Regions from separate parts of the Homo sapiens genome. Here regions 2, 3, 4 and 5 are each linked to region 1. The links are contacts of gene promoters, found by promoter capture Hi-C in human tissues and cell types (Jung and others, 2019). All regions are on one chromosome and are shown on one strand. Each heading gives the region's core, a stretch centred on a gene start or on the middle of the fragment in contact. The rest is flanking DNA. Distances are from core to core; before and after follow the strand shown. Region 1 holds the start of RNF135 (ring finger protein 135). Region 2 overlaps CPD (carboxypeptidase D). Region 3 holds the start of EVI2A (ecotropic viral integration site 2A). Region 4 overlaps NF1 (neurofibromin 1). Region 5 overlaps NF1 (neurofibromin 1).

Evidence for each region. Contacts are between HindIII fragments. The study calls those that stand out against the background at their distance.
Region 2: a fragment that was not itself captured here is called in contact with the fragment with the promoter of RNF135 in region 1 in 1 of the 25 tissues and cell types used here (IMR-90 fibroblasts).
Region 3: the fragment with the promoter of EVI2A here is called in contact with the fragment with the promoter of RNF135 in region 1 in 1 of the 25 tissues and cell types used here (bladder).
Region 4: a fragment that was not itself captured here is called in contact with the fragment with the promoter of RNF135 in region 1 in 2 of the 25 tissues and cell types used here (dorsolateral prefrontal cortex and spleen).
Region 5: a fragment that was not itself captured here is called in contact with the fragment with the promoter of RNF135 in region 1 in 1 of the 25 tissues and cell types used here (lymphoblastoid cells).

Annotation. Positions count from the first base shown.
Region 1 is chr17:30,967,510-30,972,924 of GRCh38, forward strand. RNF135 (ring finger protein 135) reads left to right here and starts at 3,530. Exons shown (of 5, transcript NM_032322.4): 1 at 3,530-3,936. The coding sequence starts at 3,565. RefSeq lists enhancers at 2,666-2,755, 2,816-2,875, 2,944-3,505, 3,156-3,405, 3,506-4,067 and 1 more and a silencer at 3,486-4,025. The HindIII fragment of the contact is 16,210 bases long and covers 1-5,415 here.
Region 2 is chr17:30,466,244-30,471,658 of GRCh38, forward strand. It overlaps CPD (carboxypeptidase D), which reads left to right. Exons shown (of 21, transcript NM_001304.5): 21 at 1-3,746. Among named protein-coding and RNA genes, the nearest start is that of GOSR1, 8.5 kb to the right of the region's middle. The HindIII fragment of the contact is 7,123 bases long and covers 1-5,415 here.
Region 3 is chr17:31,318,846-31,324,260 of GRCh38, forward strand. It overlaps EVI2A (ecotropic viral integration site 2A), which reads right to left and starts at 2,777. Exons shown (of 2, transcript NM_014210.4): 1 at 2,650-2,777; 2 at 1-178. The coding sequence starts at 168. The region is part of intron 36 of NF1 (neurofibromin 1); the gene reads left to right. The HindIII fragment of the contact is 10,482 bases long and covers 520-5,415 here.
Region 4 is chr17:31,250,468-31,255,882 of GRCh38, forward strand. It overlaps NF1 (neurofibromin 1), which reads left to right. Exons shown (of 58, transcript NM_001042492.3): 31 at 2,471-2,533. Among named protein-coding and RNA genes, the nearest start is that of OMG, 44 kb to the right of the region's middle. The HindIII fragment of the contact is 3,539 bases long and covers 136-3,674 here.
Region 5 is chr17:31,230,323-31,232,822 of GRCh38, forward strand. It overlaps NF1 (neurofibromin 1), which reads left to right. Exons shown (of 58, transcript NM_001042492.3): 23 at 1-60; 24 at 520-603; 25 at 1,751-1,867; 26 at 2,378-2,500. Among named protein-coding and RNA genes, the nearest start is that of OMG, 66 kb to the right of the region's middle. The HindIII fragment of the contact is 4,182 bases long and covers 1-2,500 here.

The sequences.
Region 1 (5,415 bases), core at 2,280-4,779:
TTACCAAGAGCCTTTTTGTCACAGGAAGTTAAGAAGAATTAAAAATTTAATACACATACATACTTTTGTTGTAGAGAAGTATTACAAAGTGATAAAAGACTTTCATGCATGAAATATATTGCTTTGGAATGTAATTCTGTGGAGGAAATGGAATGGAAATACAAGTTCAGAAAGATAAAAGAATGACAAAATTTCTTTTTTTTTTTTTTTGAGACGGAGTCTTGCCCTGTTGCCGAGGCTGGAGTGCAATGGTGCCATCTTGGCTCATGGCAACCTTCACCTCCCGGGTTCAAATGATTCTCTTGCCTCAGCCTCCTGAGTAGCTGGGATTACAGGTGCCTGCAACTACGCCCAGCTAATTTTTTTTTGTATTTTTCGAACTCCTGACCTCATGATCCGCCTGCCTCGGCCTCCCAAAGTCCTGGGATTACAGGCATGAGCCACCGCACTCGGCCAAGAATGACAAAATGTCTGATGTAGGCTGAGCGCGGTGGCTCACCTCTGTAATCCTAGCACTTGGGAGGATGAGGTGGGCGGATCACCTGAGGTCAGGAGTTCGAGACAAGCCTGGCCAACATGGAGAAACCCTGTCAACATGGGGAAACCCCATCTCTACTAAAAATACAAAATTAGCCGGGCATGGTGGCGAGCGCCTGTAATCTCAGCTACTCCGGAGGCTGAGGCAGGAGAATGGTTTGAACCCGGGAGGTGGAGGTTGCAGTGAGACGAGATTGTGCCACTCCACTCCACTCCAGCCTGGGCAACAAAGTGAGACTCCATCTCAAAAAAAAAAAAAATCTGATATAAATGAAGAATTTGCTAATATATTTTTACTACCAGAGCTGACCACTCTCCCCCTTCCCCCTTTCTTTCTTTCTTTTTTTTTTTTCTTTTGAGACAGAGTCTTGCTCTGTCGCCCAGGCTGGAGTGCAGTGGTGCGAACTCAGCTCACTGCAAGCTCCGCCTCCTGGGTTCAGGTCATTCTCCTCCCTCAGCCTCCTGAGTAGCTGGGACTACAGGCTCCCGCCGTCACGCCCGGCTAATTTTTTTTGTATTTTTTAGTAGAGACGGGGTTTCACCGTGTTAGCCAGAATGGTCTCAATCTCCTGACCTCATGATCCGCCCGCCTCAGCCTCCCAAAGTGCTGGGATTACAGGCGTGAGCCACTGCGCCCGGCCCCCACTTCCCCCTTTCTTATAACCACTGCATGATTTTGCATAAAACTTTTAGGGCGTGTCCAAGAAAAAAGTTTGAAAACTACTGGTTAACTCACTCTTTCCAGAAACTTGGCTGTGAAATGGAGAAGAGGAGAGCTGGTTCCAGGGAGGCTCAGGTCAAAGGTGATTTTATTTTATTTTTTAATTTTTAATTTTTTTGAGACTAGGTCTAGCTCCTTCCCCAGGCTGGAGTGAAGTGGTGTGATCACAGCTAACCACAGTCTTGACCTCCTGAGATCTCATGGCTCATTACAGCCTCCACCTCCCTGGCTCAAGCAATCCTCCCACCTCAGTCTCCTGAGTAGCTGGGATCACAGGCCTGCGCTACCATGTCTAGGTAGTTTTTGTATTTTTTTTGTAGAGGCAAGGTTTCACCATGTTGCTCAGGCAGGTCTCGAACTCCTGAGTTCAGGCAATCCACCTGCCTCAGCCTCCCAAAGTGCTGAGATTACAGGCATAAGCCACCACGCCCCGCCAGTGATTTCATTTTTTAAGTTGGAAGATCTGAGCATGTTTAAGTGTTTAGTATCATGCCCGTTTTACAGAAAAAAAGAGGCTCTTAGAAACTACGATTTTACTCCGATGCGGAGATTCTAGAACAAGATCCAGGTAATACATCAGTCAGGATAGGCTAGGTTATGCTGTAGCAGCACACACCCACTAAATCTCAGTAAGCTGAATACATCCTAGTTTTCTTCTCCCTCTTACTACGTATCCTAGGGTGCGTTGGCAGGGAGTCTGCTCATCTTAGCCACTCAGTGACCCAGGTCACCGGATGATGGTTTCATCTCCATAATTGGGGCAGCTGGCAGAAAGGGATACAATGGCCGGCTCAGTCGCCTTTAAAGCTGGTGGGAAGTAACATATTACCTCTGTGTGTTTCAAGTGGGTCAGGGAAGTGCCAGTCCTACCATGTGCCCAGAAAGGGAAAGCACTGGAAACGTTGATGAGCAGCGCTGCCTACTCCATGACACTTCCAGTATTAGAAATAACCACAAACGCTTTTTTTTCTTTCTTTTCTTTCTTTTTTTTCTTTTTTTTTTTTTTTTTTTTTTTGAGACGGAGTCTCCCTATGTCGCCCAGGCTGGAGTGCAGTGGCGCAGTCTTGGCTCACTGAAACCTCCGCCTCCCGGGTTCAAGAGATTCTCCTGCCTCAGCCTCCCAAGTAGCTGGGATTACAGGCATGCGCCAGGGCGCCTGGCTTTTCTTTTCTTTTCTTTTTGTATTTTCAGTAGAGATGAGGGTTCACCATGTTGGCCAGGCTGGTCTTGAACTCCTGACTTCAAGTGATCCAAAGGTCGGCTACAAACTTGTATTATCTGATACCTACTTTGAGCCCAGGCCAGAAAGGATAAAGTAAAGCATGAGACGTTGTTAGTTCATTTCAACAGATTGGGGAGTTGTGGGTTTTAGTCTCTGACGCTTCATTGTTACCATGAGAGCCTGCAAGTTTTTCTTTTTTCTCTTTTTTTTTTTTTTAACCTCTTTGGGTCATCTGGGAGGACGTGGTGCTCTTTTAGCTCTAACATTTTCTGGTTGCAATGCGTTTAGGACTGGGATGCGAAGTGAGTGAGTGAGTGAGCCTTCTCAGGAAAACACTTTCTAGAATTTTGTCCGAGTGTCTGTTGGGAAACGCGCTTACATCCCGCAGAAGGCGGTAAGGACACAGCGCACAACTCTGCATTATACCTGCGAGTTAAAAAGCCAAGGGTTCGCTCACTCAACCTTGAATGCGCGTCAGAATCACCTGGGGGAGGTTTTACAAAATACCCGTGCTCCACCCAAGACAATGAAATCAGACTCCCTGCGAGCGGGGCCGAACATCAGCATTTTTGAGGACGCTCCCTGTGGCTGTGCATCGGTGATCTTTAATCCCCTGCTACTTGTTAGAGGAGCTGGATGACACTTCGTGGGCTCATTCTCATAAATAAGCTGCTGAATGGAGTCCTCTCCTCCCAAGAGTTGTCGGTGTTGCATCTTTTTTGTTGTTTATTTTTTTTTAAGCCAACGGACGAAGACATCCAACGGTGCTGCATCTTAATGGAGGGACATCCAGCTAAAGGGAATCTTGGAGACCTCCGCGGGTTTCTAGCAGCTCGCGGCATGTTGGTTTCCCAGGGCAAGAGGCCGCCACTGAAGGTCAGCTCTGTCTTTCCAGCTGGGCACTGGAGGCTCTAAGTCTGTTTTCAGCAGGATCGGAGGAAGGAGACGGGGTGGCGCCAAGGAAGGAGGAGAAAAGGCGGCCGAGAAAAGGAGGAGGGCAAGGGGAAGAGGAAGGGCGAGGGAGGAGCCTGAGGAGACTCGCCCGGCTCAACCCCGACGTCCGCGCCCCGGCCGCCTGTTGGCCATGGCGGGCCTGGGCCTGGGCTCCGCCGTTCCCGTGTGGCTGGCCGAGGACGACCTCGGCTGCATCATCTGCCAGGGGCTGCTGGACTGGCCCGCCACGCTGCCCTGCGGCCACAGCTTCTGCCGCCACTGCCTGGAGGCCCTGTGGGGCGCCCGCGACGCCCGCCGCTGGGCCTGCCCCACTTGCCGCCAGGGCGCCGCGCAGCAGCCGCACCTGCGGAAGAACACGCTACTGCAGGACCTGGCCGACAAGTACCGCCGCGCCGCACGCGAGATACAGGCGGGCTCCGACCCTGCCCACTGCCCCTGCCCGGGCTCCAGTTCCCTCTCCAGCGCGGCCGCGAGGCCCCGGCGCCGCCCGGAACTGCAGCGGGTAGGGAGGCCGGGCCCGCAGCTCCCCTGGCTCCCCCGGGCTGCCCGCCGCCTGACCCTTTCCCATGTGGCTCGAACCCCTTTCCTCAGCCGTTCTACTTTTACGTTCCTTTTCTCAGTCTAAAAGTCGAGTTCCGCTCTTCGGAGGCACTTTGGAAAGTTCATAAAAGTATGAAGAAGTAGAAAAAAACAAATTCCCCATCTTCCGAAAGCTTGTCAACTTAGCTGTTACACAGCTTGGCATATTTCAACTTCTTCCCAATCGATCTTCGGTCTCTTTCTCTGAAACTTGTAAAATTGTGGTAAGATCTATATAACATTAAAACTGGCCATTTTAACCTTTTTCTTTATTTCTTTGAGACGGAGTCTCGCTCTGTCGCCCAGGCTGGATGGAGTGCAATGGCGTGCGTGATCTCGGCTCACTGCAACCTCCGCCCCCCAGGGTCGAGTGATTCTCTTGCTTCAGGCTCGAGAGTAGCTGGGATTACAGGCGTGCGCCATCACGCCCGGCTAATTTTGGTATTTTTAGTAGAGACGGGGTTTCGACATGTTAGCCAGGCTAGTCTCAAACTCTTGACCACAGATGATCCGTCCGCCTCGGCCTCCCAAAGTGCTGGGATTACAGTCATGAGCCACAGCGCCTGGCCTCATTTTAACCTTTTATTTTTTTGAGACGGAGTTTTGCTTTGTGGCCCAGGCTGGAGTGCAGTGGCGCCATCTTGTCTCACTGCAAGCTCCGCCTCCCGGGTTCACGCCATTCTCCTGCCTCAGCCTCCCGAGTAACTGGGACTACAGGCGCCCGCCACCACGCCTGGCTAATTTTTTGTATGTTTTTTTCTTTTTTTAAAAAATAGGGACGGGGTTTCACCGTTGTTAGCCAGGATGGTCTCGATCTTCTGACCTCGTGATCTGCCCGCCTCGGCTTCCTAAAGTGCTGGGATTACAGGTGTGAGCCACCGCGCCCCGCCTATTTTAACCATTTTTAAGTGTACAATTCAGTGACAAATTAGTTACATTTCCTGTTGTGCAACTATCACTTCTGTTTCCAAAACTGTTTCATCATCATAAACAGAAACTTTGTACTCATTAAGCAGTAACTCCTCATTTCTCCTCCCTCTAGCCCCTGCTCACATCTAAGCTACTTTCTGTATCTGAGTTTGCCTGTTCTAGATATTTCATATAACTGGAATCGTTCAATGTTTGTCCCTTTGTGCCTGGTTTCTTTCACTTAGCATAGTGTTTTCAAAGTTCATTCATGTTGTAGCATGTGTCAGAACTTTATTCCTTTTATGGGGCTGAATGATATTCCATTGGGTGGATGTGCCACATTTTTTTTGTTTGTTTTGTTTTGAGATGGAGTCTTGCTCTGTTGCCAGGCTGGAGTGTAGTGGCATGATCTTGGCTCACTGCAACCTCTGCCCCCTGGGTTCAAGTGATTCTCCTGCCTCAGCCTCCCAAGTAGCTGGGACTACAGGCATGC
Region 2 (5,415 bases), core at 1,682-4,181, 500 kb before region 1:
CAGGGGACCAAAAAACTTGCTCTTATCTTCTCAAATTGTATTCTATATCCATTAATGTATCAGTTATCCCAAAGCCTTCAGGTGGAGGGGTTTACCACCTTCCTAGGTCGTTCAACCAGGTTTTGTGAGGAATGCATTCAAAGTGGCTTTATAAAAGAAGATTTTCTTTAGCAAGAATAATGAGGTCATGTCATTTGTTAATAAGTATCTGTGATAAATCCGTGGTTCAAGGTTAAGCCATTCTGGTATTCTGGTATTAGCAACTGTAAATTCTGCCACCTCATACATGGAACAGAGCTTGTGGGATGCTAATAGTTAGTGAAGTATACATGATTTAATTTCTAATAATCTTTATGTTTTCTTTAAGGATGGTGGTGTATTGCTCTTTTTCAGCTTTATTTTTAAGAGTACAGTCAGGAAACCAACAAGGGGCCTAAGAGTGGCTGCCCCTGCTTGGGACATTACAGCAAGTGAAACAAAGTTAATGTGACAAGCTTTGCTTTGTTATCATTGGTCTTCACTAGAGGATACCTTTTACATGTACTTCTCTCTTGGATCAAATATGTCTTTAACTGTACATCTCAGTGGCTGGAGGCCATGCCTTTTAAGCATGTGTAAAATTTTTAAAGAAATGAACATACACATAGTTATTTTAGTAATATTTCCTGAAAGAAAAACCAAATTCTGCTATAAGTCTTGATCTTCAATGAACTTTTAAATAATGCATTTAGCTGGAAAACAAGACTTTCCCAGCTTGTATTACCTAGAAGCGTGAATGTATAGGATACCTGACTACTAAGACTATATTCTCAGCCCTGCCCTGTCTTTTATTTGCGGGTCTAATCTAATATTAGAATATATTAACCGCTTAAGGCATTGAAGCCATATGGGATGGGGAATGCATTTCTTCAGTGTTTCTCCGAGAGACTTTCCATTTCCTTGGAGTTATGGCGGCAAGTAAGTATCATAGTATTAAGAAATTTGCCTAAATCTGAGTTGTGCCTTTCTTTACTCACAAGGCATGGGCTTTGTCCTGGTGATCAGTTTGTAAGCCTTCTTCCTTCCCAGCTCCTTAATAAAAGCAAAGTGATTGAGTAGGTAATGTTCAAAGTGTCTGCCTGTGTACATGTACTTGTATTGATTATGTAGTTCAGTAAGATGTGCCCAAGTCATTTCAGAAAGAAAGACCCTTCAGTTTTGATGCATTTTGCTGAACACTTGGGTAGTGAGTGGGATCCTATCCAGTTGAGGAATGCTTGCAATGCTCATTGAAGGGATTTGCTTTGGGACTTTGTCATCTTCCAGAAAGGAAACATATTGTATATTTGGCCCAGTGTGATTGATTGCTTTATCTTTGGTAACTTTTACTTGAATGGGATTTGCTGAATTAATGACTATTGAATTTAAAACTAATTATGAGTTGACAAATAAATAAAAGGTAGTGTTTATGTCTGAGCTTATTGTGTTTGAGCTAACACCAGGTTACTCAGTAACCATGACCTGCTCCTCCATTTCCATTTATTCTCAACATTAAATAGTTTTATCTTGTTGTTGCCAGAAATGCACTTGTGCCAGGTATTGTCCCTGCTGTATGAAAAGCTTCTTGGCAATGAATTCTGTAATAGTGCCCTACATTATGGTTTTCTGGTGGAATTGTTTTAACAGTGACAACCCAGGATTTCCAATATATTTTTGTTTTATTGTTATTACCAAAAATTCCACTATGATTGATGTTCAGTGATTTTCTATAGCAACTTTTTTGGTAACTCTTTGGGTTTCTGATTTGTTTTAGCTAAAATTTTGGGGATATGATTTGGGTCTTTGATTAATGTCAGCTGAACTTGGATTTCTAGTTCATGAAGAAATCTCTCCCAATACCCATTTATCCTATTTTTAGCAATAATTCGTTAATGATTCCACTTGATTTTCAGAATATTGTCCTGGTTGATTTTGATTTGACAGCATACATTATGAAATTTGAAAGTAGGTTACCATTTTGAGGCAGTTGGATATAAATTATGTAAATATGTATGATTATGATTTTTATAAATGGCATAACATGAGTGTACTAACTACCTTCTATGCTGGCCATGCTACAGATTTTCTGGAGGTATGACAATAGTATTTTTTTATGCTCAGATTAAAAATCAGCTTTTCACCTCTCCAGTTTTTCCAAGTGATACTCCCAGTTCTAGAGCAATCTACAGCTGTTTATGTGAGGTGCCCAACACCCATTCATCTCAAGTGCTTCAGTCTTTGGTTTATTTCATGCACTGTGCCTTCAAAATGAAATTTTTAAAAGGGACTTTAAATGAAGTTGAATAGTAGTTTTTAAAAGTCAATTTGTAATTTATGTGAAATCTAACTGTAATGAGGTCCTTTCTGTTTTTTATATGTAAACAGATCTACTAATCCTGTATAAAAGTTATTTTACGATGTTTGTCTTTCTTTGTGTTTTGTCTCATAATCTTTTTTCAGATGCAATATGCCGGAAAAAGTTATAGGTCCAGTTTGAAAATTATTTAGTTTTTCTGCCTATGCTAGTGGAAAAATAGTACCAGGATCAGAATACAGGGTATCACCTATGGAATGTTTCTGTATTTATGAATTGACTCAAAAGAAAGCTTTGTTTCTGAAATCGCATTATGTAGTAGCCACAGTTTTCTGTTTGTAGCTCAGCTAGATTGTTATATATGTTCAATCATTTCACAATAACAACACAAAACTGGTCATTGAAAGGTTTTTATGTACGCATTTTAAACTTGTTCGTTAAAAATTTGGTCCTTTTTCCAGGTGAGGCCCAGTTAGAATAATGTGTCCCGGCACTTTTAGGCACAGCAAGGATGAATTCAATATCCCCTTTTCACTTAGCAACAATGTGTTACTTCTACCCTAATAGGAATTGGGAAAGCAAAGTTGTATGAGAAACAGACTCTGCTGATAAAGTACTCATAGTCCAGACCAGAGAAATATAAATGGAAATAGGTTATATTTCAATAGTGATTGGTTCATCTAAAAGTCTCTGCTGTAAAGGAAATAAAGCATAGAGGTTTGAGCATGGACTTTGGAGTTGGACCAATCTGTGACTGATTCTTCGTTCTGCTACTTGCTTCCAATGTGACCTTGTACAAGTTTCTTGACATTCTCTGAGCCTCAGTTTCTCTACTGGTTGAATAATCCTTGATAGGATTGCAGTGGAAAATTAAATGAAATAATGTTAGCAAAGGTCCCAACATAATATTTGACTTGGAATTGAATGCCCATGGTAACCAGCATCATTTTCCTTCATGTGATGTCTTCTTATGCCTTTGAAAGAAAGTTACTTTATCAAATGTATAAATAAAGATCTGTTTATAGGTGATCTTTTTAATTTAGAAGAAATTCTGAGACACAAATAAAAAAAGAAATTTTTTATTATGTGGTTCAATAGATTGTCTAAAGCATGGCAGTAAAGTTTTAATTATGCCAAGATGCTTCATATTTGTTTTTAAATGAAATTAAGTTGTATTTATGCTTCTTTAGTGAAAACAACGTTACTTAACTGCTACAGGAAGTGTGAATAGTGATAACAGTTCTTTTTCTCTCAGTGTTTGAAATATTTTCCTGAATTTTCTTAGTTTTCTCATACCTGAATCAAGAACCCTTTTGGTTTGTTTCATAAACAGTAATCTAGTTATTATGTTCAGCTTTTCAGATTTATAATAGCTGATTGTTCTCAGCAAATTAAACATGATGGTCAACGCTAATACTACTCAATTATGAATAAGTGCCATTGTGTGGGTCTTCATGTCTTAGACTCACTTATAGTTAGAATACCAACTGGTTCTATGCTATTTATTGCAAACCTCAGATAAATACACCATTAATTATTACACACAACTTTAAAGCAATAAAATCAGTAGATAAAGCCCAATTTTACCTTTCTCTCTCTCTATATATATATATGTATGTATATGTACATACATACACACGTGTATATGTATGTACATATACACGTGTATGTATGTACATACGTGTGTGTATGTATATGTATATACATACATACGTGTGTATGTATATGTATACACATACATATGTATGCATGTATATACATATACATACATATATATGTATATATATATATATATATTTTTTTTTTTTTTTTTTTTTTGAGACAGAGTCTCACTCTGTCTCCCAGGCTGGAGTGCAGTGGCACGATCTCGGCTCACTGCAACCTCTGGCTCCCGGGTTCACGCAATTCTCCTGCCTCAGCCTCCCAAGTAGCTGGAATTACAGGCATGCGCCATCACGCCCAGCTAATTTTTGTGTTTTTAGTAGAGACAGGGTTTCGCCATGTTGGCCAGGCTGGTCTGGAACTTCTGACCTCAAGTGATCCTCCCACCTTGGCCTCCCAAAGTGCTGGGATTACAGGCGTGAGCCACTGCGCCCGGCCCAATTTTAACTTTAATATCACAATTTTCACCTACATTAGTAGAATATTAAAAGTAAACATGCTATTTCTTTGGCATTTTAGTTGAGGTCAAATAATCCTCTTCCCTAATTACTGTGTAAACAAATGTAGACAAGGTAAGCACGAATGAGACAGGATGGCCTATATGGAGTAGTAAGGTGTTGAAGTTTAGAGGCCAGCCTAGAAGACTGAGGAAAAAAGGGTGAGAATTACTTGATAAGATTGAAGGTATGGTAATTGGAAGTGGGAGTATACTGAGATGGATATTTCAAATTCAGCAATATGAAGAGGCAGTGATCAAGTCAAAACTGTAGGTGGAAAATCAGCAAGTGGAGAAACTTAAGACGGAACACGGAGGAAATAGAGTGCAGATTAAATAGAAATTGCTATGATAACATGGATTATATTCTGTGATTGCCATTGAGGTGGAGCCAAAGTGAAGGAGTAATGGAGAAAGTCTAGATTGCTAATTTCAAATATTTGAGGTTATTCCAGTATTTATTATTGTTATTTATTATTTATTTATGTACATATGGTTCCTAGCAGAGTTTTTCAAGACTAAACAGGCTTTTGATCTACAGTCAAAAGCATTGATGCTATTGAGAGGGAATGGAACAGAAAGGGACTGGGCAAGTTACAGTAATGACTGACAGGACTGCTATATTTTTAAAAGTAATAATTTTAGATTTATAGAAAAGTTGCAGAGATCATACAGAGTTGACTCCTGGGTTTTGATTTGGAAGATGTGAGTGTTGGGAGGACAAAAGAGGAAGGATTATACACAGTTTTCTATTTAGCAGAACGTGAATGGAACACATTGGAAAGAGGGCCTGGGCATAGGAAATAGGATGTCTAGAATCTAGGCAGCCATGCACAGTTTGGGTACTCCAGGTGTCAAGCCATGTGGCTCTGCTTCTAGGTGACCAAGTTCAATTGAAATCTCTAGTGGAAGGTGTGTCCCTCCT
Region 3 (5,415 bases), core at 1,527-4,026, 350 kb after region 1:
ATTTTGGTTTCTGCCTGTCTTGTTTTGAATAACTGAATCCCAGGAAGAAGTACTGTTAGCCCACAGACGGGTATAGTTTGCTTTTGTTCCAGGAGACAAAGAAAAAACTGTTGTCATCAGAAAGGCAAGATGTAGGTAATGTCCTGTGTGTTCCATGTCCGTGGGCATGCTTGGCAATCTGTTGGGATAGCAATATAATTTGTTAGTTTGTGAAAGAATAATGGATCCTAGTTTTGGTAATTGTAGTTAAAAGATAGTGTTGAGATGTTACAAGTAAACTACAAGCTTATGCCTAATATTCGCTACCCTGAATTCCTTCTCAACTAAATTTCTTTTCTATTCAGCTATGTATGAAGAAGCATTTTAATTTCTATTAACACTTTTAGATGCTAGAAGTTAGCATTACAAATAAATATTAATCATTTTAAGTGGACTATCATGGCTTTATATAGTTTTCTTCCTTTGAAGCGTGCTAGACTTCTGCTTTGAGTCAGTTAGTTCTGCTTTTACTTTTCTGATTCCTTCTTTAAAAAAAAAAAAAAATTAAGGATCATTCTTACAGAAACTACCCACCCTCTAACCTGTCACCAATCTTTACAGAAGAAATGTGGCCTTGAGCTTCTTGCTTCATGTATGAAATAAATGCAAATTTTTTTGGTGGAAAGAGGGGAAGTTTGGTAGCAACCAAAAGAAACTGAACTTCAAATAGAAATTCAAGGTGTTCTTTTTTTTTCTTGGGTGTTCATCTTGAAGCTTAGAATAAAGCTGGTACTTAGAAATACATTTGTAAGTGTATTTGTGAACGCAATTTTACTGTGGTGGTTGTCTCTTTTCATTTATATTTCCCTGGACTGACTGTGTCTTTCTGAAGGCAAAGGCATACCAGTTTTCTCAACCTAAAAATCTGAAGAAAAAAAAAAAAAAACAGCAAATTTCCTCTGAGTAGACTTAAAAGTTCAACAAAAGTTGCTGGGTTTTCTTTTAAAGCATCATTTATACCTAGCATTTTTTCTGATTTTGACATAATTGTAAAAAAAAATGTGTAATAAAATAGAAATAGAGCATCAGGATCTTGATGATTTGGGATGAAGTGGCAGGTTATAAGCATCTCAACAGATAATTGAAAATGTTGAATTTCCGCTTTGGCCCTGAGCTTGCTGGAAACTAGTACAAAAAGGAGACAAGTTATATTATACATTTTTTAAATCTACCAAATGATTGATTTAAATAGAAATGGCATATCTTAGAATTTAACAGTTCCATGTACTGCTAACCCAGCAGGAAAGATTTATAATCATTATTAAGGTATCTTATAATAATATACCAGTTTGTCTTGAGCTACTTTTGAAAGGAGTATTTTATTGTTAGCATTTATTTGAATGAACTAAAAGCAAAACTATATTGTTCTCCTGAGATTTACTAAATGAAATTGCCTGGTTAAGAACCCTACGTATGCTATAGAAATTCTTCTCAAATGTACTTAGGAGTCCTTTTATTTAAAAAAAAAAAAAAAAGGCAGATTCTTACCTAGCTAGTATAGGTAGGGCCTGAAAGTCTTTGTTTCCAAACCAACTCCTAAGCAACATGGATGCCACTGCTAGTCAGGCTTTTGAACATCAAGGTTTTATAAGAAATGGTTGTTATATGTCATTGGCTGACATTTGTATACTATTAAAATACAGAAATTGAAAATAAGAAATGTGATACGTTGAGTTATGCAAACAAAAGTAGCATGTAATAAACAATGCTAACTGGAGACTATATTTCATATTAATAGTAGGGAGGAAAAACTATTAAATATTCCAGGATTAAGATTACTTTTTAGATTATGACCTTTAGTAGACAATTAAAGGCCCAAGTCACTGGCTTTTGTATAATAGTGTTCAGCTTTAATTTTTAAGTTTAGTGACATAAATCTTTGGATATTTCATGATTCTTCCACAAAAAGAAATACTTGAAATTGGATTAGCAAGTAATTTCCATCTTTTTATACTAGACTGGACTTCTGTATTAGATGCTAGAATGATTTAAAGTAGATTATTCTTTTCACATTAGTTCATTAACAGTGTAGTATACATCATAGTATTGGTACACATTTTAACAGTGCTTACCACGGAACAGATAATAGGCCTGCTGTTGATTGTCTTCAGCCAGATGTACTGCAGTGCCCAAATAAACAAACTGTATGACAAAATGAGACTTTCTCTTGCCCTTACAAATGCCTGAGAATTGAGGACTGTTTTTACTCCAGTTTATGCCTTGGAGGCCAGGTTGTGTTATCAGAAGTTTTCTTATATCTGATCATTTTCAGTAGAATTTATTTTCAGTAGAATTTGTAATGTCCAAGCATTAGTAATGAGAAATTTATTTTTTAACTTTTGAAAAATAACAAAACATTTCCAGTTTACTTGAGGAAACCAAACTTAGATCCTTCGTAATCCTAATTTAAAACTCCATGGCGATGGCAAATTTTTTCATTTCTAACTTAAAATTTATGTAACAGGACAGAAAAAAAAAGTATACATTTTCAGTCACAATTCTAGTTTGTTAGTGAGATTCTTACACACTTTGATAGCATTTCCTCGAACACTAATCTGTCAGACGTTAGAAGTGAAAAGGCATAAGAAAAGCCGTATATATATGACCTACCTTACAAAATGCTTGGTCAAAATCTGATTATAACGTGATTTTGATAAACCACTTCTTTTCTTGTCTTCTTTTTAAAGCAGAATAGACTTGGAGAATATGAGCCTTAAAGTAAATCTGCAGTAAAAAAGGATATGTGCAGCTAGTTTTCCACTTTTAAAACCAAACCACAGATGACACATTTCCTTTCCACTGCAACTAAAGCACATGTCACAGGAGGGAAAAAAAAAAAAACAACGAAAAAGCTCCAACTTCTCTAGTTGGCCACTGGCATGACAGGAGGCTTTGTAGAACCAATCCCCGCCTCCAGAGCAGGGAGGGTTTTCCACTTAATGCCTTTTGACAGTATGCTCATTCTATAGGCCTGCTACATGCTTTAGTGTCATTCAAAAGAGGTTTTGAAATGGTATCTTCCATTTCAAATCTTCTCTAAAAGACTTATTTGAAATCTACAGACTGATTTGAAAATGTGAGTTTGGAGTCCATGGGATACTGATCAGATAATGTAACAATTGTGGAACTGCAGCAATTATTTGAGAAAATATCTAGTAAACTTAGATTATATGGGACAGAAAATGCTTTCGTGTGGTGTAGTGTGTGTATACACACACACACACACACACACACACACACACACAACTGTCAAACATCCTGTCATCACCTCAAGTTTAACATGACTGAAACAGACTTTAAGAACTAGGTATGGGCTGAACACGGTGGCTCACACCTGTAATCCCAGCACGTTGGGAGGGTTGACGCAGGCAGATCACTTGAGGCCAGGAGTTCAAGACCAGCCTGGCCAACATAGAGAAAACCTGTCTCTACTAAAAATATAAAAATTAACCAGGCAGGGTAGCATGCACCTGTAGTCCCACCTACTTGGGAGGCTGAGACAGGAGAATAGCTTGAACCCGGGACGTGGAGGCTGCAGAGATCATGAGATCTTGGCTGCATGAGCTAAGATCATGCCACTGCACTCCAGCCAGGAAGACAGAGTAAGACTCTGTCTCAAAAAAAAAAAAAAAAAAAAAAAAAAAAAAAAAAAGAACTGGATATGGCAGCACATATCTGTAATCCCAGCTACTAGGTAGGTTGAGGTAGGAGGATCACTGGTGGAGCCCAGGAGTTCAAATCCAGCCTGGGTAACATAGCAAGACTCCATCTCTTAAAAATTAATTAAATTAATGAAATAAAAAGAACTTTATTTTTTCTTTAAAGGAGGCTGCCTGTGACAGTCTTCTTGTTTCTGTTCATGATAGCAACATTCTAATATCAGAGGCTTAGTATACAACACATCATTTTAATTTAAGTCCTCTCAGTCCTGATCAGACTTTGAATCATGTTGGTCCTTCCTTCATATTGTTGGATCAGTTTCTTTTTCCCTGTTTTTACTGTCAACAGTACTATTTTAGATCCTTATCAGGTCATACCTAGACTCTACAGTGCCTTTTCGGTAGCCCTGAATCCTTCTTATATCTTGTATACATCACTGTCTTTGGTCATACCACCCTTTCTTTAAGGGAAAATAAAACCGGTTGAACAGTTCCCTAATACATACAACAATGATTCAGAAATGTTTGTGTACATAAACATCAGATGAGAAGATTGTTTAAAAATTATAAAAGCAGGACATGGTGGCTCACACCTGTAATCTCAGCACTTTGGGAGGCTGAGGCGGGAGGATTACTTGAGCCACAGAAATTCGAGACCAGCCTGGGCAGCATGGCAAAATCCTGTCTCTACAAAAAATACAAAAAAACAAAAACAAAAAACTAGCCGGGCATGGTGGCGCTTATCTGTAGTCCCAGCTACTCAGGAGGCTGAGGTGGGAGGATCACCTGAGCCTGGGGAGGTCAAGGCTACAGTGAGCTGTGACCGTGCCACTGCAGTCCAGCCTGAGTTAAGGGAAAAAAAAAAAAGATAAAAATTTCCAGGCCCCACTACATAGATCCATATTTAGTAGGTCCAGGTTGGGACCAGGAAACTGCATTTTTATCAAGCACCACAGTTGATTCTGACGCCAGTAGTCCACAGAACATATGCTGAGAAATGGTGAGCCCCTAGTAGAAAACCTAAGCCCTTTGGTTGGGCAGTTATGGTCTCTCCACAATTTGACTATTCTGTATTTTCCCAGCTTTATCTCTCAAAACTTCTCTACCTGAATCCTCCATTCTGGCTAGACTAGCTGTCTCTTCAACACATCTAGTTACCTGTTTCTTTTCCTTTTTGCCTTTCTCCATAAGGCCTGCCCAGTCCTCTTGCTGAGTCTGCATTCCTCCTTACCTGATTCAGCCACTGTATCTTCTATGTAGCTTTCACTGACTGCCCAGTTTGTGTTAATCTCTCTCTCTCTCTCCTTTGTCTTAATAACAGTATTTTCTCTGCATTTCCTTTGATAAGTGATTACTTTCTACCTCATATCTTCTATCTTGAAATATTTGTGTTGTTTTAAAATCATTTGACTTGTCATATTTTTATCTTATTTTCTCCCAACAAGATTAAAAATTCTGAGGTGAAGTTTTTTATTGATACATGATAATTTGTACATATTAATGGAGTATGTGTGATTTTTTTGGTTTTTTTTGTTTTTGTTTTTGTTGGAATCTCGCTCTATCGCCCAGGCTGGAGTGCAGTGGCACAATCTCAGCTCACTGCAAACTCCCCTCCCAGGTTCAAGCAATTCTCCTGCCTCAGCCTCCCAAGTAGCTGGGGCTACAGGCACGTGCCACCACGCCCAGCTAATTTTTGTATTTTTAGTAGAGACAGGGT
Region 4 (5,415 bases), core at 655-3,154, 280 kb after region 1:
ATGACAGAGGCTTTGACTTTAGCTGGTTAAAAGTGAATGGGGACTGACTACATGATTACATGGTCTAGGAGATTGTAGTAGAATTTCTTCATGTGGTTGTCATCCTAAAAGAAAAATCTTTTTGTATCATGAGCAAAGTTGGAGACCGTTTTGAGACCATGATTCTAATAATGTAAAAGGAACAGGTCTTAGCACTTATTTAGTACTTAGGAAATATTTAATGAAGAAATAAATTTCCCATCCCTCCCACCTAAGTAAACAAGATTCTTGCCAGCTTTCACAGCTAAGAAAGGAGGAAAATAGTGAAAATAGATTTTTAAACACTATATGTGGTGATTATTAAACAGTATGTTATGCTTTTTAGAGCACTTCACAGTAAAATATCCTATATTATTTTAATAACAAACCTGGTTTATTATGTTAAAATTTCACATAAAATTATTATCTTTAAAAACATGAATTAAAGGTGGTATCAGTGCATTGTTTAAGTATTGGGTAAAAGCATTGTTGAAGAGCAGAGACAGCATGCTGTGTTGTTATTAAATAAGGCTTTATTTTTTAATTAGTAACTGGTAACAGGGAATGTTACATTTACTGATTAGAAAGAAAGATAGGAAAAAAGCTTTGGTCTCAAGATAGTATTTTATTGAGTCTGCTTCCCAAACCTAGTTTATTTCTTTTGGTTTGCTCTTTTGTTTTTATTCATCTTCCCTCTTCTGGCTTTTTCTTGCCCCTTTGCCTTTGGCAGTAACAGAAAGGTACCTTCCTGCTCTTCTGTGTTCTGCCTGGAGGGATAGTAGTCCCTTTGGGACCTACTGGGGAAATGTTGAAAGGGAAGTGAGTATATTGCTAGCTAATAAACTTCCCTGGACTTTAGCTCCTTTTTTGAGTTCATATCTTGGCCTTTAAGCCTTTTCAAATCATGTGTTAACCAGCTCTATTACTTTATATACCTTCCTTCCTTAGTTGACTGGATTAAGGTTATTTAAGAATAGCCAACTGTGAACATGTGTCAGATTTATAATTAAATCATTTTCTCATGTGTTGTTTTCACTTCTCCTGATGGTTTTAGGATAAAGATAAAATGATTCCCAAAGTGGATATTCTCGTATGGTGAGAGAATTCTAAGAACTAATTTATGATTCTAAATAAATCTCACCCTTTTTCAGTAAATCTGCTTCTCCAAACTGAAGTAGTTTACACACAGTTTTAAGGCTATAAATGATAGTTATATACCACTGTTACTAATACATTTGTATATAGTCTAAAGTTTGAAACAAAGCTCTGTGAGCTAAGGGGCTGTGTCTTGTTGTTTTACTGCTATTTCCCAATGCCTAGAATGGTATTTGACCTGTAGGTACACAGTAACTCTTTGGATGGATGAATGGGTGGGTGGATGAATGGATGTCTAACTAACTTAAAGCCCAAGTTATGGGTTATGGTGTTGGATGTCCAGAATTCCCAGAATAAGATGCCATCTATTTGTGGATTAAATAATTCTAACATGGTTTTAAAAATATTTTTAAAATAATTATTCTGCCTAGGCTAGTCCAATCAAGAGTCTTTTAATTTTGAAAGAAATCTTTGGTCTAGAAAGAGCTCTGAGAGATGAAACCAATATGTGCCTGGAGTTTTGGGGGTTTTTTAGGTGGCTTTTTTTTTTTTTTTTTTTAAGATATTTTGATAAATGGTCAACTGTAATATGTGAAAAGTTTTAAGCAGGCCTACAGTTTTGTTCTGTAATTTTCTCTGCAGTTTCTTCACTTTAATAATATTAATGCTTCTTACTAGTTGAGCTGATAACCTTCTTCTCCCAAATGTTGCAGAGCTTTTAACCTCCTCTGATTAGAACCATTTCAGGAAGTAGCCTGCAAACATTGAAAAATATGTGAAATGTTAAGAGTAATCTTTTTTAGAGAGAGAGGTCTTTAATTCAGAATTTCTAAAGTGAATTTTTATATTTATCCATATAATTTTTATTTCTTTATTCAGTAGGATCATAATTAAATGCCAGGTGTTGGAAAAAGAACTTAAAGTCAATTGAAGGATACACAGAGAAGAATTTTACATACCAAGAAAAAATTATGTAGACACAAATGTTTTTAGTGTGTGATCTACTTGTAATGAATATTTTATATTACATTTCTCAAAAGCTAGGAATTAACCAAAATGTAAATATTTAATATCCTCAAATTCACTTGGAGAGAGTTTTTCTGTGATTCATAGCCAGAAATAGTAGACATGATTGGGTCTCAACATTTCTTGCTGTTTTAGTGCTTGGCTTAAAAATGTAATAAAAATTAAAACCCAGAATTAAAATTCATTCCTCAAAATTCAGTTGATTTCTAATTTTTTGTTGATTCCATTTGTGTTACATTTTATGGTGTAATTTTATGTACAAGCCAACATTGTTTTTGTTGCTGTATGTAGTCGGTGCTGTGACTTGTTTGTGCTCATCTCTGTTCTGTAGGCAACTTGCCACTCCCTACTGAATAAAGCTACAGTAAAAGAAAAAAAGGAAAACAAAAAATCAGTAAGTTTGGAGAACTTTTTATTAGCTGTTTCTTTCAAAGCAAAACAAAAATCTTTTGCTGTTTGTTAAGAATATCTTCACTTCAGCCTATTTGACCTTCACTGTAAAATCATTCTACTAATTCTGGCACAAAATAGCTTTCATTTCAATTAACCCTGGAATTAAGTTACATTGAAACATTCTCTGTGTTCCTTTGGTTTGATTTATCCCAAAGGCAATTTGTGGGCATTTGTTGCATTGGATATCCTTGGTCTAATTTTATTATTGTTACTTTTTAAATTATAAATGAATGCAAAGAAACTTAATTTCAAGGCCTTAGGAAACGCTGACTGTCTTCATTCTTGCTTCTTGTTTGAAGGTAATGTGAGTGGTTTCTTTTCCCAGAGATGACAGTGTTTCTTAATTGTTAGAAGTATATGGTGGGAAAGAGTCACTTTCTAAATCTTACCTAAAAGTTGCTAAATTTTATTTTTTTACTCTTCATATTTTTATCTAGGCAGTCTCAGGCATAATTTAGATATTTGTGCATAGATTATAGAAATTTTAATGGTAAAACTACTTTTACCTCAAAAAAATAAGAGGTAAATGATAAGATAGTACTTTTGAGATAAAAGAAAACTGAGTTCATATTTGTAGAAAAACACATCATTCTGCAAACATAATGTGAATATACTATCTGCTTCTATGAACTTGCCTTGATTTATTTAAAAGGAAGAAAATTATGAGAGTCGTAATTATTTTCTTCCAGTGAATGGAATTTGTCCAAAATATAATATGCATTCATTTTACATTTGCCATTATCTGTCACAGTGACTTATCAGGCTGAGCCCTGTCTTTGTTCATATAATCCAAATGATTGTAGAGTAAGATGTAAAGAAAACTAAGTAGGTAGTTTTCTTAAAAGGGTGTAATTTAGAATACAGTGTTCATCTGGTTTCATCTTTCATGCCTTATCTAAACTTTACATATAATAAAAGCTTTATGGCTGGGCACAGTGGCTCATACCTGTAATCCGGGCACTTTGGGAGACCAAGGTGGGAGTATCTCTTGAGCCCAAGAGTTAAAGACCAGCTTGGGCAACATAGCGAGTCGTCTCTACAAATAATTTTTTTTTTTTTTTAATTAGCCAGGCGTGGTGGTGTACTCCTGTAGTCCCAGCTACTCGGGAGGCTGAGGCAGGAGGATTGCTTGAGCCCAGGTGGTTGAGGCTGCAGTGAGCTGTGATTGTATCACTGTACTCCACCATGAGTGACAGAGTAAGACCCTGTCTCACAAAAAAAAAAAAAAAAAAAGAAAACGAAAAAGCTTTACATATAAGTTTCTAAGCTGTACATATAAATTATCTAAGCTTTAAATATAGATTTTTAAAATTCAAATCAAAATTTAAATTTATAGACATATACTTTTGTTGTGTCCATTGAAGATTTTATTTTTGATTATATTAAGTAAATTTGCCTAGCTATGATCAAATTGATTGGATTATAAAGACGTTTCTAATGCTTCAGCCTTCTAATTCTCAGCATATGTGAGTTTAACATAATGTACACCATCATTGTTGAAATTAATTTGCTGCTTCTAACACTCTTGTTCAGTGTTATACTAATGCCATTTTGTAGTGTATCACATAATTAAAATTCAGGCTTTCTGTGTTTCTCTAGAGCATGTTTTCTAGCCTTTCTAACACTGCTTTATTTATTAAGATTATGTCTAAAATTGTTTCTTGAAATGTTTTTTTTTCTACTAGAGTTATTTTCAAAAAATTTTTTTTTAATTTCTGGGTAACACCAAGTTTTGGAATGTATTTCTCAGCACAGGTAATACGAGCTCCTCATGGAAACAAGGGGAATCTAATTGGTAATTCGAGATATTTTAGAGTACATTCCAAAGTATGAAGACAGTATACTCATAAATTTAAAATGTTGTTTTATGGAGTTGTGTGCTTTAACAAAACCTAATGATATTTAAGAGCAAGCTGACTTTCTTTTTGGGTGTATATGTCATGGATTGGAATATGTAAAATATAGAGAGAAGATCTGGCTTCTAGTATATAGCTGTGTAGTCACATTACAAATAACTGTTTATTATTCTCAAATATATAGTGTATAATGAGGTTTACTTTGAAAGTTAACTGTCTGCCTAACTCAGGGAGAATGCAGTAACTAAGCATATATGGGTAGTAATGCTCTTGCTGAAGTGTAGTTTATGACTACATGCATTCGCGTTATGTAGTCAGCTTTTACCAAGGGAAGAAAGGGTACATTTGGCTGATAACTGGTCTCAACACACAGACTGGCCCAAGTTTGACCTTTTATGCAGAATGTCTTTTGGATCCAAATTAGATTTTTATGGATTAAAAAAAACACTAGAGCATGTATGTATTATGAGGTAAAATTACATTGATGTCAATTAGTGGTGAATGAAAAAAAAACAGTCCTTTTATAAGTTGACTTACGAAACTTGTTATGTAGCATTTTTATTGGTTTTTAAAATCAGTTTTTAGTTCCAAAATTATATTGATTCTGCCATCAGTGATACATATATTTATATGATACATGAGACAGTATGTGTTCCTGAGGTGTCGATATTTTGGGTTTTGACATGAATTATTTTTAAAGATGTGGAAGATGGTAAAAGTGTAGTACTTTTCATAAAGTTTACAATATGCTTTTGGGAAATCACTCAGTTTTTCATTAAATTCTGAGGCTGAGTACCATTAAATCAGGTGTAAATATGAGTCACATTTTAAAACTTCTTTGTCCTAGAGAAAACCGGTAAATAGCTACTTTCAAAGAAGTATTTTGTCTAATTGATGATAACCATTACAAATTTCCTTGTTCCTTCTCCACTCCCAGTGCTTCATTTTACTAGCATAAAAAATAAAA
Region 5 (2,500 bases), core at 1-2,500, 260 kb after region 1:
AGTTGAAGTAATGATGGCAAGGAGAGATGACCTCTCATTTTGCCAAGAGATGAAATTTAGGTGAGTTCTCAAAAGAGCAATGTAGGGTCTTGTAAATCTTAATATGTCCAATGAAGTACAGAAAAAGAGTAGATATGCGGTTATTGGTAGAAAGGAGGACATGAAAAGAGAGCAATTTACATGTTTGTTTTTCTCTACATCTCTTCTCAAATTTCCCTAAGCTTTGTGCCTGTGACAATGCTCCCTTTTTCTAAAACTGTGCTATACTTGAGCTAAGAATTTGATTCTATTTCCAATCTGATACCATAACTAAGGGCCATGATGGAGGATAAATATCCATGTTGCTTGTTCCCTTCTGGCTTTTATGTCTGTGATAGCAGTATCTCTTTTATAAAGTCGTCATGTCACTTAGGTTATCTGGCAAATTATTTGCACTATAAGAAATCTTACGTGACTAAAGGTGTGTGTGTGGCTTCAAAAACATTGTTTGCTGTTTCTCTTTTCTCCACCATTCTATAGGAATAAGATGGTAGAATACCTGACAGACTGGGTTATGGGAACATCAAACCAAGCAGCAGATGATGATGTAAAATGTCTTACAAGGTAAAAAAAGAATGACCTTCAAGTATTAGTGGGTTTTACTGTGAGAGTTATAACTACTTAATTACAGCTTTATACTTGTATTTTGTGTGTATTTAAACTTTTGAGATGTCAAACTTTTGTGTTTGAAATATGTAAAGATGCTAATCTTTATTACTGCTTTTTTTTGACTGATAGACTTTCAGTAAAATTAAATGTGAAAGAGTGATATGTTTGGGAAGTTAGTGTTGTCAGTTTATGAAGAATAGTCTACAGTTATTGGGAAATAAGATACATAAAGCCTCAGATTGCATTTGTGTTATGATTAGATAGATAAAGGTATTATTTGAGGAACTCATTGTGTTGAATCTTTTTAAGAAATAATTGATTTCCTGATTCAAGCACCAGAGACAGAAAAAAAAGGAAGTAATCAAGTCTGCTTTAATGATACTTATTGACACATATCAGAAAATGATTAAACACTATGGACTGTATAATAAGCATTCACATATGTTTCTTTGACCAAGCCTAGCTTTATAATACAGTCTTCTCTGTCAGGGATTGGTTCCAAGAACCACTCCCCAAACCCCTGCCCACATCTTACTCCCATGAACACTAAAATCCACAGATGCTCAAGTCCCTGACTTAAGATGTCATAGTATTTGCATATAAACTATACACATCCTCCCATATATTTTTAATTATCTTCAGATTACTTATAATATCTAATACAATATAAATGTTGTATAAATATTTGTTATACCATATTGTTTAGGGAATAACAACAACAAAAAATCTGTACATGTTGAGTACAGATGAAACCCTCCTTTTTTTTCCCCCAAATATTTTCAATCCATGGGTGGTTGAATCCATGGATATAGAACTCACTGATACAGAGGGCCCATTGTACATGCTTCTGATTTAAGGTAGCCATTTTGCCAAGATTACTTTGTAGAAAGTAAGTATTACCTTCTCCCCATTTGAGATGATTTTGTATTCTGGGATCTGCATATTAACTCAAATTATTTGGGTTGTGCTAATAATTTGTTTAATGAAATAGGTAGTTCCTAAGGTTTATATCTGTTAGTAAGAGGTTTATTTGAGGGGAAGTGAAAGAACTTGAAAGATTCATGGTCTCTAAATTTTTTTTTTTTTTTTTTTTTTTTTTCAGAGATTTGGACCAGGCAAGCATGGAAGCAGTAGTTTCACTTCTAGCTGGTCTCCCTCTGCAGCCTGAAGAAGGAGATGGTGTGGAATTGATGGAAGCCAAATCACAGTTATTTCTTAAGTAAATTTCAGTCACCAAAAAACATAAAGCAAAAAGCAAATAAAGCCCCCCACCACACAAAAAAAGCAAAGAAATAATACCCATGACAGGACTAGGATAGGAAAATAACTGTGTTTTGTGATTTTTTTAAAGAAAGTAATATGATCAGTGAAATTTTGCTTATAATAAAACCCAGATTGCTTCATTAAGTCATTTACAAAAGTGACATTGTCTAAGCTGTTTGGACCACTAATTTTATATACTAACATTAAAAGTGACACATTTACCAGGTAATATTGCATCTATTTGATGCTAATGTTATGAAAGGTATACTAGGCTATATCAGGTAAAATCATGTCCAACATAGCACACTTCATAATAAGCCACCCTGGCTGATTATCGCGAGAGAGGAGAGAAACAGTTAACCCAGGGCCATTCACACCATGCACATATGATTGTTTTGGAATGTCTGGTTAGCTTTCTAGTTGATACGGCCTTCACTATGTAAAGGTCAGTCTTTTTATTTCTCAGATACTTCACATTATTTATGAACCTTTTGAATGACTGCAGTGAAGTTGAAGATGAAAGTGCGCAAACAGGTGGCAGGAAACGTGGCATGTCTCGGAGGCTGGCATCACTGAGGCACTGTACGGT